Linked DNA regions of Homo sapiens: region 2 is linked to region 1. The links are contacts of gene promoters, found by promoter capture Hi-C in human tissues and cell types (Jung and others, 2019). All regions are on one chromosome and are shown on one strand. Each heading gives the region's core, a stretch centred on a gene start or on the middle of the fragment in contact. The rest is flanking DNA. Distances are from core to core; before and after follow the strand shown.

Region 1 (3,425 bases), core at 667-3,166:
AGACTGATGTGACTTTAACAATTCTGGAAAACAAACTCCCCTTTAAATCAAGCACTTTCTTTGGGAGGCAGCCAGTTAGTTAGGTTTGAGTTCATGTCTCCATACTCTTTAGAGGAGCAAAAGGGAAGGGAAGAGGGATCCAGAAGCACTTGTCTCCAGAACTCCAGAATCTGCAGAAATATATTTAAAACTGCAAAATACCCAAAAGAAAAATATCCATGCAGGAATAAATATAATACATGTTCCTGGACGTGGCTCTATCTCCAGTTCTATACATACATACACAAACATGCAAAGATGTACAAACATGCACAGACCATGCCTCATCTTCCCTCCTTGTAAGCTGCATGCATCTTCTGCCTGGACACAGACGGGGTTTAAGAGGGCAGGCTTTGAAATCAGACAGCCTGGCTTAGAAACCTGACACTTGCACTTAAAAGCTCTATGACACTTCAACTCTCAGCTTCAGTTTCTTAATCTATAAAATGGAGATAATAATTGTATTCTATAGAGTTGTAATGTTGGTTGAGACAATGCTAGGCATACAGTAAACCCTTAATGAACATTGTTATAAACCTGTTATCATATTGCTGAATCATAGTATTAATTTTTAAAGTTATTTTTAGAAACCATTAAATCTGAATTTAAAGTTCAAAATATCTCAACTGACAGAATAATGACATAGCTGCATTTTGGCATGAACAAGCAGTGACAGCCACGTCACCACCCACGCAGATGCCCAGCAGCTGGCAAGTTCCTTGGAACCACACTGGGAAGATGCATCTTGGTTTCAGAAATGTTAAAATTGGGGAAGAGGGTATGTCTTCAAATGGTGTAAATTTAGTATAATGAGGACTACTGCAGAATAGTAATAGGCAAATTTGGAAACAACTCAAATCCATCATCTCAACCAAACCCTAGAATCTGAGCAGGTGCTTTGACCGTGACCAGGTCCAAAGTATACGGCACTCCAAGAACAGTCGGAGCTACGTGGGAAGGGAGCTGGCCCAACTTTTTGAAGTTTGTTGGAGAAGGATGGGTATGTGACTTATAGGCGTGTGTGTGTGTGTGTGTGTGTGTGTGACTATATGCAGAGACAGGAGCTGCGTGTGTTCTAGGAATTGGAGCTTGTGAGAAATATCCCACCCCTGAATACATAAAAAGTCTTGTTACCAAAGTGCACGAATTTTCGAATCTTACTCGGGAAACAGTTAATGGCTGAGAAGCTTCATATCGAAGATGCCCCACCCTCACAGTGCTCCCAGACATGCCACCCTCGGACTCAAAGACTGCACACAGACTCCTACTCACCACATCGGCCTTGGACCCAGGTAGGACCAGAGACGGGGGCGTGGGAGTGCTCACTCTTGAGGTTTTCAGCGGTAAAGAGTGTCTCTTTAGAGACGGACTGAGTGGTAACAGATATTGTTCCCTCCCGGCCTTTTATAGACAGACCACATCTCCACTCAACGCAATCATTCTCCAAGAAGCGTCCAGCGTTGAGGTCGGCTTCCTTCGGAAGCCCGGAGGACCCTCGGCCTCCGGAGTGGACGAGGGTCTGCTCCACATTCCCATCAAGGGCCCGCCCAGGCGGGTGGGCTTTCCCAGCAGCGCCCCCAGGAGCGAGGCTTTGAGGGCCGGAATGGGAGGGATGCCCTGAGCCGGCGTCTTGCAGACCCCGGGGAGGATACACCTCCCTGGCTGCCGCTTTAACACGGGGCTGGCGGCTGCAGCCAAGCCCACCCAGCCTGGCCTCTTAGGCCGCAGCCGGGTGTCTCGCCTGGCCTCTGCCTCCGGCCGCGCCCTCCCGGCCGCTTGCACCGCCGGCCGCTCTCGCTGCAGCCCTGGCGGTCCCGGGGCCCACCCCACGCGGTCCCGCTGCAGCTGCCACAACCCGCGCGTCTTCCGGCGGGTTGTGAGCCCCGGCCGCCGGCTCCGCCCACAGGGGGCTGCCACGGAGCCCGCCCTCTCCCGGGAAGCAGCGCGCGCCCTCGAACCCGGAAGCTGGAAGCCGCCCGAGCGCGCCCCCGAGGGCCGTCCGGAACCGTGGGTAGCGGCCACCCACCCACGCCGCCCCCCGTTTCCTCACAGCGGTCCTTGGGAGACCTCCTTCAGCCTTTCCGGTGAAGCGCCTTCCCTGTCATTCATTCATTCACTCATTCATTCATTCATTCATTCAGTTATCTATTCTGAGTGTGTAAGATCTACCCCCACATTCTTATTGGCCCTGCGTATACAGCAGTTAACAAAACGCAGTTCCTGCTTTCTTGGAACTTAATTACATTGAAATTAATTGACAATAACAAATAGAAAAATAAATAGATAATACCCCAGGCGATTGTGAGGACCATGAAGAAAAGGAAAGCAGGGTGGGGAGATGATGGGCTAGGATATTTGTATCAACCCACTGTAGAAAACAACAATAAAATTTAAAAATAAAATTCTGGAATACGTGTGTGTGTGTGTGTGTGTGTATGTGTATATATATATACATATATATATAATATATAAATTTGTTTTTGAGACGGAGTTTCGCTCTTGTTGCCCAAGCTGGAGTGCAGTGGCGCGATGTTGGCTCACCGCAACCTCTGCCTCCCGGGTTCAAGTGATTCTCCTGCCTCAGCCTCCAGAGTAGCTGGGATTACAGGCACGCATCACCATGCCTGTAATTTTGTATTTTTAGTAGAGATGGGGTTTCTCCATGCCTGAGCGACAAGAGCAAAACTCCATCTCAAAAAAAAAAAAAAAAGAAGAAGAAGAAGAAGACCCTCCTTACAATAACTGGGACCCCAAAGGGCAACAGCCTCAGGGTGAGGATGAATTGAAAATGGAACAGCTTAAAAGGAATTTACAGACTGCATCAAATTGCCTGTCTCAGACATTATCTTGGTTTAAGACTGTCTCTGACTATGGTGTCACCAGATGCTTGGCAAAAGCAAATAGGTGGAGGAAAGCCTTATAATTGTAGGGCCGACATTTTTCCTACACATAAGTTTTCATAGACAATGTCAAATACAGAATTAAAGATAACCAGGTACACAAAGAAACTAGATTCTTAGTGAGAACCAGCAGAAACACAAACATTGGAAATAGACCTGCAGAAACAACTGCTTTTAGAATTATTTGATGCAAACCGCAAAATAATATTTTCTTGGGCTGGACACAGTGGTTTATGTCTATAATCCCAGCACTTTGGGAGGCCAAGGCAGGTGGATTGCTTGAGCTCGGGAGTTCAAGACCAGCCTGGGCAACATGGCAAAACCCTGTCTCTACAAAATATCAAAAATTAGCCAGGTATGGTGGCACAGCCCTGAAGTCCCAGCTCTTCAAGAGGCTGAGATGGGAGGATCGCTTGAGCCCAGCAGGTTGATGCTGCAGTAAGTCACGATCATACCACTGCCCTTCAGCCTGGGTGACAGAGCAAG
Region 2 (3,425 bases), core at 691-3,190, 540 kb after region 1:
TATCTTGGGAAGTGCTCTACGGGAATGGTCAGGTTGGAGAGGTAAAGGTTGGGCATGCTCTGCAGCAAGGGCTTCCTGGAACATCTGCTGTGATGGGGATGCCTCAGCCTGTTCCCTATCTTGCCCCTTTGTTTGCCCTGTGGGGAAGCAGGTAGGACAGAAAATAGGAAGGAGAGACTCTTGAGGGTCCCAAGAGAGGCTCTTCGGGCAGGAAGTATTTGAGGGCCCTTGAAGTCACTTGAGGCTGCCAGTTCCTGCCTGGATGTTGGTTGGGCAATAGTGGCGTAGGTACAGCCTCATGGCTGATCCATCTGATCTCATGAGGCTATGGACCATGCCACAGGGAGGCCCTCTGCGGGCCTTGAGACTGGGCTGGCTGCTGAGCCTCAGTTCTTGGGGGGCTGAGGGGCATGGAGAGCACCCAGAGATTCTTTAGGACAGCTGGTGCCCTTCCCACCACCAACCTGTGTCCCAGCATCTTCTCATCCTAGACTTTCCCACGGTCAGGATCCTCCCCAGAAGACAAAGACAGCTCTACTTTTTCAGAGAGACTGACTGCCAAGAAGACGTTAAGAATGACAGAGTGTGAGAAGCTGCGCAACGCCAGCCTTGGCACAGACAGCTACGCCATCCGAGGCCAAAGTGTACCTCTAAGGGAGCCCCAGTGGTTGGACCAAGCTACCGGGTGGCCTCAGAGGACAGCGAGGGGGCTGAAGCCTGAGGAATACCTCTTTCTTCCTGGCTGCCCAGAGCCCTGCCCTCATGCTCACACCACATTCCTGCAAGGAGACATTGCCTTGGTCTGCTAGCCTGGACCCTCTCAGAGTTGGAAGGGCCTTTTAGAGTAAGTGACTTGCTGGACTCAGACCAGGGTGGCAGAAGCAGAATCTGCCTTGGGCACCCCTGGAGTCGTTCCCCCTCTTCGGGCCTCCTTTTGCCCATCTGCACAAAAAGCATGTTGGGCAACCCAGAGCTTTGTGACGGCTACTTCCTCCACTGTGGCAAGCCAAGACCTCCAGCTCTGGGTGGCTGGCTTCAGAATCAGCACAGCGACGCTGTGATCTCATGCTGATTAAGAGCAAGAGATAACAGCATAGGTGGGGCTATGTGGGCCTGGAGTCAGCCCCATCAGGGTTTGAATCCATTTCTGTCACTAGCTAGCCATGTGACTTTAGGCAGGTCACAACTTCTCTGAGTCTTATTTATATGATCTGTAATAATACCTCATAGTGGCATCCTCAGGATCCAGTGAGACAATATGTGTGCAAAACAAGCGTTACAGTTCGCTCTCAACAAATGTTCATTTTGTTCCTTTATCCTTTCCCTCTGATTGGCAGGATATATGTCTTCGATTAATAGAAAATGGCAAAACAAGTTCCTTACCATGTTCCAAGATTAAAAATGTAGAACATGGGAACCTTAAGGAAAAAAATTATGTAAAAGGATACTTGGAGATATAAAGGTGGCCTTGTCAATATATTCATTAAATTTACTCTTGGCCCACCCAGCAATATATATGAATGAGGTATGGATGATCTTGTCCTTTGAAGGAGTCACATCTAGTTGTGGAGATAAACACAGCAGACTGTTACAAAATTATTTTGGCCCAGGCACAGTGGCTCACACCTATAATCCCAACACTTTGGGAGGCCAAGGCAGGAGCATCTCTTGAGCTCAGGAGTTCGAGACCAGGGCAACATAGGGAGGATCTCAAAAATAAAAGAACAAAAATCTCCTTATGTTGTCCTGGGCTTGAACTCCTGGGCAACATAGGGAGATTTTTATTATTGATTTAATTGTTTTTTTCACAGAGTCTCACTCTGTCACCCAGGCTGGAGTACAGTGGCATGATCATGGCTCAATGCAACCTCCACCTCCTGGGCTCAAGCAATTCTGCCACCTCAGCCTCCTGAGTAGCTAGGATGACAGGGGCCTGGGCAACATAGGGAGATCCTGTCTCTATGAAAAATAAAAAATAAAAAAGTGAGCTGGGGTGTGGTGGTGCACCCCTGTAGTCCTAGCCACTCAGGAGGCTGAGATGGGAGGATTGCTCAGGAGGTGGAGGTTACGGTGAGATATGATTGCGCCACTGCACTCCAGCCTGGGCGACAGAGAGCGAGACTCTGTGAAAAAACAAACTAACTAACAAAATGATTTGGCAAAGGCCTGCATGTACAAAACTGAGAACACCAGATTCCGTTTGGGCGTGGTGGTCTGGCAAAGCTTAACAGAGGAGGTGATAATGGAGCTGAGCGCGGAAGGTTGAGAAGGAGTTCCCGTGATGGGTAAGGGCATGCCCGGCAAAGGGAACACCACAGACATGGAGGCATGATGGAGGGTGTGGGGAGCGGAATCAGTGAGCAGCTTGGGCTGCTGTATGGGAAACTGGTGGCCCCTGAGGCCAAGAAGATAGAAGGAGGCCTTGCATTCTCATCCTGAAGACTGTGGGGAGCCACCGAAAGGATTCTTAACAGAAGAGTCAAATGACCACATCTGTGCTTTATAAAGATGACACTGCCACTTGCTATCTTCAGACCTTCATCCCATCTCTTCTGGACTGTTGCAGCAATGCCTAAGTGTTCCCCTCTGATCCCATCTCCAAAAACAGACCAATTTTTAAAATAAAATCAGACCATTTTATGCCCCTGTTTAAAATCTACTTACTGTCACTGGGCGTGGTGGCTCACACCTGTAATCCCAGCACTTTGGGAGGCCAAGGCGGGCGGATCACCTGAGGTCAGGAGTTTGAGACCAGCCTGACCAACGTGGAGAAACCCCGTCTCTACTAAAAATACAAAAAAATTAGCCGGGTGTGGTGGCACATGCCTATAATCCCAGCTACTCAGGAGACTGAGGCATGAGAATCGCTTGAACTTGGAAGGCGGAGGTTGCAGTGAGCTGAGATTGCACCATTGCACTCCAGCCTGGGCAACAAGAGTGAAACTCAGTCTCAACAAAAAAAAAAAGAAAAGAAAAATAAAAAATAAAATCTACTTATTGGGCCGGCACCTGTAATCCCAGCACTTTGGGAGGCTGAGGTGGGAGGATGGCATGAGCCCAGGGGTTCAAGACCAACCCAGACAACACACTGAGATCCTGTATCTACAAAAATAAAATAATTACCTGGGCATGGTGACGTGCACCTGTAGTCTAGCTACTCAGGAAGCTGAGGCGGGAGGATCACTTCGGCCCAGGAGTTCGAGGCTGCAGTGAGCTATGATGGCACCACTGCACTCCATCCTAGGCAACACAGCAAGACTCTGTCTCTAAAACAAATTTAAAAAATTAAATAATATAAATCTACTTATTATATGTGCTCAATAACTGTTTGACGAATAAAAGAATAAATGAATTAGCTGGGCATGGTAGTGCATGTCTATAGTCTCAGCTACCCGGGAGGCTGAGGCAGGAGGATTTCTTGAGCC

The links. Contacts are between HindIII fragments. The study calls those that stand out against the background at their distance.
Region 2: a contact is called between a fragment that was not itself captured here and the fragment with the promoter of ZFP69 in region 1, in 1 of the 25 tissues and cell types used here (adrenal gland).

Annotation. Positions count from the first base shown.
Region 1 is chr1:40,475,781-40,479,205 of GRCh38, reverse strand. ZFP69 (ZFP69 zinc finger protein) reads right to left here and starts at 1,916. Exons shown (of 6, transcript NM_001320179.2): 1 at 1,312-1,916; 2 at 1-170. RefSeq lists a silencer at 1,708-2,177. The HindIII fragment of the contact is 19,716 bases long and covers 1-3,425 here.
Region 2 is chr1:39,938,019-39,941,443 of GRCh38, reverse strand. No RefSeq gene overlaps it. Among named protein-coding and RNA genes, the nearest start is that of MFSD2A, 15 kb to the left of the region's middle. The HindIII fragment of the contact is 8,075 bases long and covers 1-3,425 here.